Linked DNA regions of Homo sapiens: region 2 is linked to region 1. Evidence: promoter capture Hi-C in 16 types of primary human blood cells and fetal thymus (Javierre and others, 2016). All regions are on one chromosome and are shown on one strand. The core of a region is centred on a gene start or on the middle of the fragment in contact, and the rest is flanking DNA. Distances in the headings are between cores, read along the strand shown.

Region 1 (6,769 bases), core at 4,270-6,769:
TCAGCCTCCGGAGTAGCTGGGATTACAGGCGCTCATTACCACGCCCGACTAATTTTTATATTTTTAGTAGAGATGGGGTTTCACCATGTTGGCCAGGCTGGTCTGGAACTCCTGACCTCGTGATCCTCCCACCTTGGCCTCCCAAAGTGCTGGGATTACAGGCATGAGCCACTGTGCCTGGCCTTCAGTGGTTTTTAGTATAGTCATACATATGAGCAACCATCACCAGTCAATTTTAGAATATTTGCATCATCCTATTTGGTTGGGTGTGGTGGTATGCGCCTGCAGTCCCAGCTACTCAGGAGGTTGAGGTGAGAGCATGGTTTGAACCCAGAAGTTAGAGGGTGCAGTGAGCTGTGGTTGCACTGCTGCCCTCCAGCCTGTGCGACAGAAAAAGAAAAAGAAAACCCATACCCTTTAGCTATTACCCTTGGCCCCCCAAATCCTCCCTTCCCCCCAGCCCCTGACGACCACTCAGCTCTTTTCTGTTTCTATAGATTTGCCTCTTCTGGCCATTTCATATAAATGGAATTATGTAATATGCGGCCTTTTGTGTCTGGCCACTCAGCATCCTGCTTCCAAGGTTCATCCATGTTGTTGCATGACTCAGTAACCATTCATTTTATTGCCAAATAGTATTCCTTTGTGTGGATATACTGTGTTTGTTTATCCATTGAGAATTTGAGTTGTTTTCTTTTTTTGGCTATTATGAATAATGCTGCTATGAACATTCAAGTTTTTCTATGGACGTAAGTTCTCATTTCTCTTGGCTATATTTCTGGGGTGGAATTGCTGGGTCATATGGGAACTCCAGATTTTTTTTTTTTTTTTGAGACAGGATCTCACTCTGTTGCCCAGGCTGGAGTGCAGTGGCACAATCTCAGCTCACTGCAGCCTCTGCCTCCTGGGCTTAAGCAATTCTTGTGCCTCAACCTCCTGAGTAGTTGGGATTGCAGGTGCCCACCATCATGCCCGGCTAATTTTTGTATTTTTTTTTTTAATTAGAGATGAGGTTTCACCGTGTTGGCCAGGCTGGTCTCAAACTCCTGGCCTCAAGTGATCCTTCCGCCTTGACCTCCCAAAGTGTTGGGATTACAGGCGGGAGCCACCGTGCCTGGCAGTAACTCTAGATTTAATATTTGGAGGAACTGCCAGACCGTTTTCCATAGCAGCCACTCCATTACACATTCCCACCAGCAGTGTGCGAAGATTCCAGCTTCTCCACTTCCTCATCCACACTTATGGTCTGTCTTTTTGAGATCATATTCTTTTTTTCTTTTTTTCCTAGACAGGGTCTCACTTTGTTGCTCAGGCTGGAGTGTAGCTGCCTGAACACAGCTCACTGCAGCCTTGACCTCCAGGGCTCAAGTGATTCTCCTGCCTTAGCCTCCCCAAATGCTATGATTACAGGTGTGTGCCGCCGCACCTGGCCAGGAAAATATTCCTGCTGGTCATGCTACACTGTAGAGTCTGCTGGGCTTGGGTTCAAATCTTACCAGTTGTGGGATGATCTCAGACAAGTGGCCTCTTTGTGTCATTATCTATAAAATGGTGGAAGAATTCCTCCTTTCCAGGCTGTCAAAAGATGAACTGAGTTAGTGGCAGGATCAGGACTGTGCCAACTGTAAAGTGAGGTGCACGTGTCTTGTTTTTATAACTGGGTACCCTGGGTATAAAGTCCCTGAGATCCTGACCTGTCTGGCTCACCAATCTCTCCCCAGCATCTGGCACTGGACCTGGCATACAGTAAGCACTTGGTAAATGCAGACCCTTGGCTGCTGCCCAGGAACCTTTCTTAGGGGAGGTAGCTGAGTCCACCTGGGGCAGTCCAGGAGCTACGTGGAGAGCAAGGCTGCGCCCCACATGTGGCTGCCACATGACTCACAGCCAATGCTGAGGGCCTTGAAAGTTTTTCCTTCCCTAAGAGGAAACATTATTTCTGGCTAGGCACAGTGGCTCATGCCTGTAATCCCAATGTTTTGAGAGGCCAGGTTATGAGGATCACTTGAGCACGGGAGTTTGAGACCAGCTTGGGCAGCATAGCGAGACCTCACCTGTACAAAAAATAAAATTTAAAAAGCCAGGCTTGGTGACACACACCTATAGTCCCAGCTATTCAGGAGGCTGAGGCAGGAGGATCGCTTGAACCTAGGAATTTGAGGCTGCAGTGAGCTATGAGCAGGCAACTGCACTACAGCCTGGGCTACAGAGCAATACCCTGTCTCTCTCTAAAAATAAAAAAAAAAAGATTAAAAATTAAACTTAAAAAGTATATTCATATTGTTGTGTGACCCTCGTTCATCTCCAGAACTCTTTGCATCTTGCAAAACTGAAACCCTACGCCCAACAAACAGCAACCTCCCATTCTCCTCTCCCCCAGCTCCATCAACCAGGACTTTTTTTTTTTTTGAGATGGAGTCGCTCTCTGTTGCCCAGGCTGGAGTGCAGTGGCACGATCTCTGCTCACTGCAACCTCCCTCTCCCAGGTTCAAGCAATTCTGTCTCAGCCTCCCAGGTAGCTGGGATTACAGGTGCCCACCACCATGCCCAACTAATTTTTGTATTTTTAGTGGAGACGGGGTTTCATCATGTTGGCCAGGCTGGTCTCGAACTCCTGACCTCAGTTGATCTGCCCACTTCAGCCTCCCAAAGTGCTGGGATTACAGGCATGAGCCACTTCGCCTGACCCATCAACCAGTATTTTTAAAGCACCTACTAAGTGCCAGGTGCTAGACCTGTGGTCATGAACACGTTCCCTTGCTTCATGGACACTGGTACCCATTTTTTAGGTGAGGAAACTGAGGCACAGAGAGAGAGGGAGGCTCTTGCCCACAGCTCCCACCACAGCTCCTTCTCCCATCAGCGGCAGGGCAGGATTTGAACCCCAGTGTCTGGTGCAGAGGCCAAGCTCCAGCTGCTTAGCCCAAGATGAGTCACTTCCCTACATGGGGGCCTCAGTTGCCCCATCTGTGAAATGGGGATCAGGAAAGAGCTGGGTTAGTGATGATGATGCTGAGCGCTCAGGCCCCTTCCCTCTGAGCTTAGAGAAGAGGAGGTCGCCATCCCTGGCCCCATCTCCCCCAGTTCCAGTCCCCAACATCAGCTGCCTTATGGCTGGAATCACCCTTGCCATTTTCTTTAAATTGAGACAGGCCTTTCTGCAGAAATGGGTCCCAGACTCACTCCTCCACTCTCAACCTGGCCCAGCCCCAGCCCCAGCCCTGAGGGCCCCCAGCAGATAGCTGTCTGTCAGGGAGGTGTGAGGGGCCCTGTGTTTACCTTCCTCTCCACTGCCAGACATCTGCCTGTTTACTCCGGACCCTCAGAGGGTTCTCTTTCCCACCCCAACCCCCACCATGGAGGGAGCAGCTTTTGGAGAGGCCATACTCCTCTCCAAGCCTCAGTTTCCCACTTGCAAAATGGGTAGAGCAAACCCTACCTCACAGCCTGTTCTCCCTCTCATCCCCTAGGCTTCTGTGCTCAGTGAGTTAATTATTAGGGTTTGTTTCTTTGTAAATGTTTCACGCTGGAGGTGAACACATCACTCCTATTCAGGGGTACACACACACACACACTCTCTCTCTCTCTCTTTCGCCTCCCCACCCAGCAATTCTAAAATTTCACTTTCCAGCTGTTGGACCTCAGGAGAGATGCTGCTATTTTCAAGCTGAGGAGGAAGGAGCTACCCCACAGTCCCTGAGTCAGCTCAATTTAGTGAAAACACTAATGATGAAAATGGCATGGCTCTGGGCCGGGCACGGCGGCTCACACCTGTAATCCCAGCACTTTGGGAGGCCAAAGTGGGTGGATCAACTGAGGTCAGGGGTTCAAGACCAGCCTGGCCAACATGGTGAAACCCTGTCTCTACTAAAAATACAAAAAATTAGCCTGGCGTGGTGGCGCATGCCTGTAATCCCAGCCCCCAGGAGGCTGAGGCAGGAGAATCGCTTGAACTCAGGAGGCAGAGGTTGCAGTGAGCTGAGATCACACCCCTGAACTCCAGCCTGGGCGACAGAGTAAGACTCTGTCTCAAAAAAAAAAAAAAAAGGGCTCTGCACAGCCTGGATGCTCCCAGCATCTTCACTGCGACTGTGAGGTGAGGACTTTTGTATGCCCCACTCTACAGGGGGATGTAGAGGCACTGAGGCACAAAGGTGAAGGGACTTGCATAGGGCTGCTGGGTTAGAGAGTCACAGAGCCAAGCTGTGGGCCTGCTAGGCTTTCCAACCACCCTGGAGGAAGTGAGCTGCCCATCCTGTGGAGGTATTCAAGTGGACTCAGTGCTGGGTAGAGGGTATGGCTATGTGTTGGGGCCCACCTTTGTTATCTGATAAAAGAAAATACATGGGTAGGTGTGGTGGCTCATGCCTATACTCTCAGTGCTTTGGGAGACTGAAGTGGGAGGATCACTTGAGGCCAGGAGTTGTAGACCGGCTGCCCTCCCCCACCCCCCCTTCTACAAAAAAATAAAAATTAGTGGGGTGTGGTGGCGCATGCCTGTACTCCCAGCTGCTCAGGAGGCTGAGGTGGGAGGATCTCTTGAGGCCAGGAGTTTGAGGCTGTAGTGAGCCGTGATCATGCCACTGCACTTCAACCTGGGTGACAAAGGGAGAACATGTATCAAAAATAATAATAATAATAAAAAAAATAAACAAAAACGCATTGAGCCAGGCACGGTGACTCAGACCTCTAATCCCAGCACTTTGGGAGGCCGAGGTGGGTAGATCGCTTGAGCCTGGAGTTTGAGACCAGCCTAGGCAACATAGTGAGACCCTATCTCTGCAAAAAATTTAAATAAAATTAGCCAAGCATGGTGGTAGGCGTCTGTGGTCTCAGTTACTAGGGAGGCTGATACGGGAGGATTGCTTGAACGCTGGTGGTTGAGGCTGCAGTGATTCCTGATCACGCCACCGCACTCCAGCCTGGGCAACAGAGTGAGACCCTGTCTCAAAAACAACAGCAACAAAACATTGATGGCCTACTCCGAGGCAGGCTTCGCAGTAAGCACTGGGTGAAGACCAAGGAGAGCAGCTCACATTTATTTACCCCTGAACCATCTCTATGGGCCATACCCGAGGGTAGGGACCTCCTTCAACGCCTCGGAGGAAATTGTCTGCTGAATGAATGAATGAGCAAACACGTGGAGGACTGGGCCGGGACGCCCATTTAGAGACTAGGACACAGTCCCAGGGCGGCCCGAAGTCACGGAGCAAGATCGAATCGGAGCCGATTCCAACTAGAGCCCTCTCCAAAGACCGTCTGCCGCTCTATCCGGGGATCGCGACACCCATTTTCCAGGCGAGGAAACTGAGGCCCTGGCCCTGCACCTCCCCCGCAGGGGAGGCCCTCGCTGGGCGGGCGGGGTGCGAGTAGGGGCCGCCCCTTCTAGGGCCTGCGCTCGGCGGGGTCCGCGAGCCGGCGGGTGGGCGGGGAGCTGGCCGGGGGCGGCGCGCGGCTGGAACCTGAGCCGGCGGAGGAGGGACCCGCGGGCGGACGGGCGCCGGGCGGGCCGGCCGGGATTCAGGAAGCGCGGATCTCCCGGCCGCCGGCGCCCAGCCGTCCCGGAGGTAAGTGGGGCCCGGGCCCGGGAGGGGCGGCTCAGCCGAGGTCCCCTCGCGCCCCTGGGGACATCTCCGTGGCCCGTCCGGCTCCGGGGGGTCCCGAGGCTCCAAAATGCGGGCCAGGGGCGCGGGAGACGGAAGGCACCAGGTTCCGCAGGCGCCAGCCTCTCAGCTAAGTGCCCTTGGGCCGGACACCGGCTCTTTGGGTCTCGGTTTTATCACCTGTGAAATGGGCACCAACGTGGGGCCTGGGGTAGCAGGTCTGGGGGGAGGGCGGTTCGGTTCCCTGAGACCCCAAGCCAGGGAACCAAAGGCCCGGAGCCTTGCAGCCCACCTTAGGAGACTTGGAAGAGGGATTTCGGGGGACCTAAGGTTTGCCCTTGGCCCCTGAGCATGTCGGAGGGAATTTGGAGTCTGGAGCTTCCAAAGGCTTCTTCTTGGTTACTGAGTCCCGGAGAGACGGCTGTTTCCTCCAAGAGGCATGAAAATCTTTAACCTCTAGTTCTGCCCTGGACTCTCAGGACGTCCCGGGGGCGGGTGGCTCCTGGGGGTGGGTAGCGGGGGTGGGGGTGGGGGAGAGAGAGACTCCCACACTCCCCGCTTGCCTGGAAACACCAACCACAGATGCATTCATCGAGCCACCCACTGCTCCAGCCTGCCCCAGCTGTTCCCTCTGTCTGTCCTCTCTGTTTTGCAGATGGGGAAACTGAGGCTTAGGTCGGGGATCTAGACAATTGGGATTTAAACCCAGGGACTATCCAGCCCCAAAGCCCTTCCCACCACACCAGGTGGCCTGTCCTGGGGCCAGCTCTGCACACAGGGCCTGGTGCCCCCGGGGTGCTTGGGAAGTGGCAGGGCAGAGGTGGGCCCTGTGGCTGTTCTGGCTCAGCTTCTAAAACAAGAGCCTCTGCTGGGGGCAGAGGGGCCGTGAACCCCTGAAATGTTAGGCAGATACCCTGTGGGAGCTTTGTTCTGGGATGCTAAGAACCGCTTGAGGATTTAAGCTTTGCCACTTTGGCTCCGGAGCAAGGGCAGAGGGTAAGTCGGGACTCCCCGGGCTCCTGAGGAGGGTGACGAGGTGGGCTTTTGGGGGAACAAGGGTAGAAAGGTCAGGCCTGGGTTATCTGCGGGGCTAAGAGCGGGCCTGTGTGGGGCCCGGGGTGTGCTCTGCAGTCCCCTGCTGTGTGACCTTGGCCTGGTCCCTTAGC
Region 2 (6,769 bases), core at 1,788-4,287, 300 kb after region 1:
TTGGGCCAACTTTCCCTTAAGCATGGAGGCCGAGGACTGTGTAGCTTCCTGTACAAGGTGGCATCACGGGCTCAAACTGCATCATGAGAGGCAGCTACACCCAGAGGCGGCCACTGGGTTTTTATGGGGAGTAGGACTCTCATTTGAGCACCCACAGTGGGCCAGGCTTGAGACACACAGAGCTCCGTAACCCTGAAGGCTTTCCTTCTCCTTTGGCCAATGAGGAAATGAAGCAGCGAGCCTGGACGTGCACAGCCTGCTGGGGTAGGAGTAGCATTCGAGTCTGCGCCTGCCTGCCTCCTGAGCCCACTCTCTCACTTTCTCCCATGCTGCCTCAGATCTGGAGCCCTGGTGAGGCCAGACGCCACTAAAAACAGCACGTACCCACCCCCACTCCAGGTACCCTTCCCTGAGGAAGGAAAGAGAAAGGGGCTGCCGAGAGAGGGCTGAGTCCGTGGGCAGTCTCTCTGGGGCTGGCTGGTTCTCCTGCCGTGAGAACTGTGGGGCCCTCCTCACTTGGCTCTGAGGGGTCCAGCTGCCTGCCTTGCTGAGATATGGACTAGATAAGGGCCTTGCACAGTGGGCACAGCAGACAACCACCAAGAGGGAAGTCAAGGCTCTTCCCCACCCACCCCGTGGGGGTACCTGATCGTCCGACACCTCCACGCAGCGGATGGAGAATGGAGGCTTGAGGTAGGCGAATCCCAGGAGCGGGGGTCTGGAGCAGCTGGTCACGAACTGCAACACAAAGCAGGGTCAGTGGGGACGGGGCAGGCTCCTGCTCTTCCAGGACGGGCCCTTGCAGCTGTGTAGCACGTGTTTGCTCTGTCTGTTACCGTGTTGTAACTGCTGTCTAGCCAGCCGTATGGAGTGGCGGGGTGGATCTGGCCCCAAAACTGGCACACGCCGTACATCTCTCTCAAGGGTGCTGCTCTCGGGGACTAAGACACATGAAACCCATACCCAATAGGTGCGACTGGCCACTTGTGAGAGCACGTGTGACTGCAGAGTAGGAACAGCACAAATGCCCAGCCAGGGCACTGGTGAGGCGTCCCCGAGAGGCAGGTCTCCTGTGGGATTGTTAAGAGGAACAGAGCAGCAGCTGACACCCTCCCACAGAGAGACCATGTGAGGAGAAAATGGGAGACGGTGAGGGCGAGGCGGAGGCTGGTGGCACCCACTGCACGTGGTGCGAACAGAGGGAGCCCGGGAGACCCGCACTCACTGGCCTTGCACTTGGCATCCTGCCGGCTCCTTATTCATGCAGAGGGGACTGCACAGGTGCAGTCACCTGAGCCCTGGGCCTGCTGATTTAGAGTGGTCTATGTGCTGGGGCCCCGGGGGACCCTGTGCAAGAGACTAATAACCTCTCAGCACACTGACAAAAATGAGGCCCCAGAGCCAGTGAGGCTGCAGAGCAGGCTGAGGTGCCGGCAGCCCAAGTGGGGCCTGTGGGCAGCCAGCCACACTTCCCTGCTACCCCCTGGGAACTCCCGGCGTTCTCCAAGCGGCAGCCCCTGCGTTATTCCTGCAAATGTGCTAGCTCGTGCCTGGAGAGAGGCATCTGACCAGCCTGGAAATCTAAGTGATAAACTTGCACAGGAGTGTCCCAAGAAACCATTCACTTTAACTCAACAGTAGCCAAGAATGTTCTCCCTTCTCTAGGGGATACAGGGGCTTGTCACTTACATCATCAAGCTGTCCTCCAAAACTCAGGGGCAATTTGAGGGTTTGGGTCTGTTATAAATGGTTCTGAGATTCCTGAGACCATCCAAAGACAGTTTATGTGTGTCGGGCATCAAAAAAAGTTTTAAAAAGAGTATTAACAAGATCTATTCCTATTCTAACATGTTTTATTTATAAAAACCATAGCAGCATCAATGCAGGAAGCATTTTTGTGTTTCCACACTGTGACGAGCATTCCCTGAATGCAACCTCATCCAATCACTCTACGGATGCTGTGTGTCGGGGCTGTGGTTAGTCCTGTTTTAAGAATAAGGGGACAGACACAGAAGTATCTGTGCATCCCAATTTAGGCCGGCTCAGGTCTGCCCGCTGCAAATTCAGGTGGGTGAAAGGAGGGAGGGAAGCTTTCCCGCTCCTGCGAGCGGGGAGGGGCGGAGGACACAGGAAACCCCTGGATGCTCTGCTTGCTTTACATTTAAGAGAAGCATGGTCGTGGTCACATCCACTCCTGGGCAAGGGTTACATTTCTTCTGCTTGGCTCTGGGGCCTGTATGCAGCTGCACAAAAGGGCAGGCACATGGTAAGGAACTGTAGGTTTGGTGACAGGTTATCCAAAGGCACAAACACACCTGTTTTGTGGGGCAGCACCTGCACAATGATGAGACACTGGTTTTCCTCTGTAGGAGGGGCCAGCGTGAGCCGTTTTATAGCTTGGCAGAAACTGCTTTGCCCATGAGGCACTTCTGGGAAAACTGAACTGATTCTCCCAGAATCAACTTCTGGAATTCTGTCTGCCTGCCCATCCTAAATCCCCGGAGACCTGTGGGGATGTGGGGCATTTGTGTTATCTGCTGGACTGCGTGAGGGCCTCTTCAACAGGAATAAACTCTCCTCAGAATGACCACCCAGGAGAGAGGAAACCAGCTGTCATTTTAATTGCCAGTGACACTGTCCAGGTTGCCTCAACAGATGAGGCCACATGAGATTGTTCAAGCCCAAACCTCCAAAAGAAAACATTTCAAGGCACTAAATTTACCACCAGAACATGGCAAAATGTTCATTGATATTCTGTCAAGTAGGAAGGCTGGTGGGAAATGATAGGATCCCATTTTTAGAGAAATATACACATATATAACACATACACAGAGAAGCGTGTGTGCCATTCAGCGTCCTAGGAAATACTTACACACTGCTGATGTCAGTAACAAAAAACAATGCAATGGCATTAGGGGAATATTTTGAACATTTACAACTTTTACAGACACCATAACTGGGGAACCAGTTAACGTCAGCCACTTTATTTGCAAAAATACATCTTGATATCAGCCTAAGCAATTGTGTGTGTTTTATTGGGACACTGTGGGTGTGTATGTGTGTCTTACGCTATTGAGAAAATGGGTATAGAGAGACAGTCCCTGGTGAGTAGGAGTGTAGAGAGTTGACAATTCCATACTGGAGGAACAGCAATTGTTTAATATTTTGCTTATCTGTATTTTCCTAAGGTAAGGTTCCAAGCAGAGGGTCATTTACTTCTATAATGAAAGGAAATAAAGAAAAAAGATGTTATCAAGGCCAGCATAGGCAAAGGGGAGGACGGAGTGCCGAGCACAACAGGTATGCCCACCTGTGCAGGGGGCCTGTCCCTGCAGCCAGGGACACACAGCAGGCTCGGCCGTGCCCCTCAAGCCCCTCTCTGGTTACTGCTTGGCCTACCGGGAGGCCTGCCTGTGGGAGAGGATGTGCTGACTATCTGAGGTCCTCCTGATAATTTCAGTTTCTTCAGCGTAAATTATTACATCAACTGGCCTTCCAGGTTTATGAGAATACATGCATGCATGCATAGGTAATAAATAAAATACCTTCAGAAACATAGCTCTCTCATCCGGTGTGAAGTCGGAGGCCAGAATATCCCAGAGCCAGATGATGACTCTGTGACTTCCATGGAAACCACCGTAGTAGACTGTGTGCTTCCTGAAAGCAATACAGACCTGGGCTCAGCAATGTGCTAGCGTGGGCACTTATGGACAGGCAGGCAGGTCATGCAGACAGCTGGCACGGTCCACTCTGGCAGGCCTGGGGAACACTACTAATTTCTCTTAAAGCCAGAAGTTCATGCCTCAATAACTCTATCTCCCTGGGAAGCTAAAAGGGTGGGGAATTTGAGAGCTGGCCCTGCTGTTCCCAAGCAGAGGCCAGCCCCAGATCCTCTGACCCCATCTCCTAGAGCTTCAGAGAACCCCCAGTCCTCAGGCCTGCTTCCACTTCTTAATCTCTAGGCAGACAAGTGGTCAAGCTTTTAATCCAAAGCAGTCTAGCCAGTCCAGGGAGGAGAAGGAGATCTGGAGACAGGCTCCTAAAACAACTCTCTAAAAGGAACCCAGCGAGGGAGCAGCTGGCTTTCTGGGAGGCCAAGGAATTTCACCCTTCCCCCCACCCGCCTCTTACTTTAAATCTTCCAGATCAATCTCAGCATTGTCGCCAGAGATGAGACGCTGCAGTTCAGGAGTTGAGAACATTCGGATCCACTCGGGTTTGATAATGGAACGGAATCCGCTAATGAGGGCAGCTGTTTGGTTTTTTATTTGAGTGTGCATTCGAAAATGTGCCATCAGATGGATGTAGCTAATTCTGTTGCCAACAAGGAAGAGATAACAATGACAATTAACAGGACGGGGCAGGCTGTCACCAATGGGCTGAAAGACAGTCTAGTCATTTCTGAACCATTTTACAAAAAACACAAATAGTACCAGAGTGTTTCATCAGAACAATGACAATGGCGACAATGACGACAGCACTCACGAACTGCACACCATACGCCACTGTGTGCACATCAAGCCTTTGAGGGCACTGCATCATTCACTCCTCCCCAAAACCCATAGGTCACACCTCGGGGTAAGCCCCCACTATGTCGGGAATCACAAGGAGACATTCCCCACGTAAGAAGAGGGCCCTTCTTAGTACAAAGGGTGCTTTTTGGACTTTCATTTAATCTCATTCTTCTGGACATAAATCAATTAAGATACCATTCAGTCCTCTAATAAGTTTTAAAATAGAAAAAAATTGTTTCATGTCAAAACTTTAATCAAAACCTTGCTAATCTGGATCAACAGTCTAATGCTATGGCAAGGCGGACCTGCAGATGCTTTAAACACGCAGCTGGGCTAGGAGTGGACTCAACTGGGAAGTCAGAGCAACTTACAATGGTTCCAAGCAGAGGGTCTCTGGGTCTGCTGTGATGAACACAGTGCCCTCAACTACAACTGCATAAAGCATATAATCCTCTCAACAGGTTACATACATTCCAACAGGCTTGCTAGCATCGCTAATTTCTTTTTTCTTTTTATTTATTTATGTTTTGAGACAGAGTCTCACTCCGTCACCCAGGCTGGAGTGCAGTGGTGCGATCTCAGCTCACTGCGACCTCTGACTCCCGGGTTCAAGCGATTCTCCTGCCTCAGCCTCCCAAGTAGCTGGGACTACAGGCATGCACCACCACACCCAGTTAATTTTTTTGTATTTCTAGTAGAGATGGGGTTCACCATGTTGGACCAGTCTGGTCTCAAACTCCTGACCTCGGGTGATCTGCCCGTCTCGGCCTCCCAAAGTGCTGGGATTACAGATGTGAGCCACCACGCCTGGCCTTTTCTTTTTCTTTTCTTTTTTTTTTTGAGATGGAGTTTCATTCTTGTCGCCCATGCTGGAGTGCAATGGCGCGATTCGGCTCACTGCAACCTCTGCCTCCTGGGTTCAAGTGATTTTCCTGCCTCAGTCTCCTGAGCTGACATTACAGCGCCTGCCACCATGTCCAGCTAATTTTTGTATTTTTAGTAGAGACGGAGTTTCACCATGTTGACTAGGCTGGTCTTCAACTCCTGATCTCAGGTGATCCACCTGCCTTGGCCTCCCAAAGTGCTGGGATTACAGGTGTGAGCCAACGCACCCAGCCTTGCATCACTGATTTCTTAGCAAAGAACTTGAGCCCGGCCCACGTATGACTCTCACCAATTCCAAATCAGTAGAGTCCAAATAAATGTTTTACAATGCTAAAGCTTTAGTAATCTCAAAAATATCCCTATTTAAAAAAATTTTCCAGCAGCAAACCTGTATATTAATACATACAAATACGATTTTCCTATCATTGCTCCTCCTTCCAGGTATACTTTGAAGCAGGTGACGAGTACTGCTCCACTTTACTGAGAAAGGGGGAGAGGAAGGGAGGAGGTGAGAGGGAGGGAAGGAGAGAGGGAGATACGAGAGAAGAGAGTATGGGAAACATCCAACACTCATAAAGTGCAAGATCAAGTATCACCCCTAAAGAGGGAGAAACTGGCACTGCTAGGCCTTTTGAGTTAGTATGCAGAACTGAGTATCCTTACCCTGACCTGAGGCTTTATGCTATAAATGCTAAGAATCTGTGAAACAAGTTTCCACATAGGAGGTTTCCCAGCAGGACAGGACTCTCCCTCCAGCACAGCCTGCTCCCACCTACCTCCTCTGGGCGCTCTACTTAGCAGCCAGTGCCTATGTGGGGAGAGTGAGTGACTACCTACTGTCACCCCCAAGCTGCAACACCTGGCAATGCGTGTCCTCTCAGGGGGTGGCAGGATCCATGTGACACGTCACCCATCTGAGGATGGTAAACATCACTGCTGTCATTTAAGCCCTCCTCTGAGCCTGACACCCAGGAAGGTATTTTATACACATTGCCCTACAAGCACCCCCCTAAAGGAATGGCTACAGGTTACATGGCAGGCAGGGGCAGGACTCACCATGCTCTCTCTCTGGCCCTGGCTGGGCCCTCTCTACTCTTGCAGGCAGTCCCTCCCAATCTGCACTTTGTTCCTTCTAAGTTTTCAAACTAATGCCCTGTGGCCAAGGAGCAAGGCCGGTGTATTTCAATCATTATGAAAACAGGGTCTGTTCTCCTGACGTTTCTGACAGTCTAAATAAAAAAGTCCCAAGCTTGCAGACTGACTGAACCACCTGATCCGAGAGGAACATGATGCTTGGGAACACTGGACTGCGACGTGCATCTGATTCAAATGACTCACCAGGTGGGACTGAGCCCTCACTTGTCACTAAA

Evidence for each region. Contacts are between HindIII fragments. The CHiCAGO score rates a contact against its expected background, and 5 or more counts as called.
Region 2: a fragment that was not itself captured here is called in contact with the fragment with the promoter of TRPV4 in region 1 in 1 of 17 cell types (endothelial precursors); the score reaches 5.2 in endothelial precursors.

What each region holds. Positions count from the first base shown.
Region 1 is chr12:109,832,148-109,838,916 of GRCh38, reverse strand. TRPV4 (transient receptor potential cation channel subfamily V member 4) reads left to right here and starts at 5,519. Exons shown (of 16, transcript NM_021625.5): 1 at 5,519-5,567. MIR4497 (microRNA 4497) reads right to left here and starts at 5,569; the gene lies at 5,481-5,569. The HindIII fragment of the contact is 8,362 bases long and covers 1-6,567 here.
Region 2 is chr12:109,527,435-109,534,203 of GRCh38, reverse strand. UBE3B (ubiquitin protein ligase E3B) reads right to left here. Exons shown (of 28, transcript NM_130466.4): 25 at 4,132-4,314; 26 at 3,546-3,657; 27 at 646-738. Among named protein-coding and RNA genes, the nearest start is that of MMAB, 43 kb to the left of the region's middle. The HindIII fragment of the contact is 1,889 bases long and covers 2,093-3,981 here.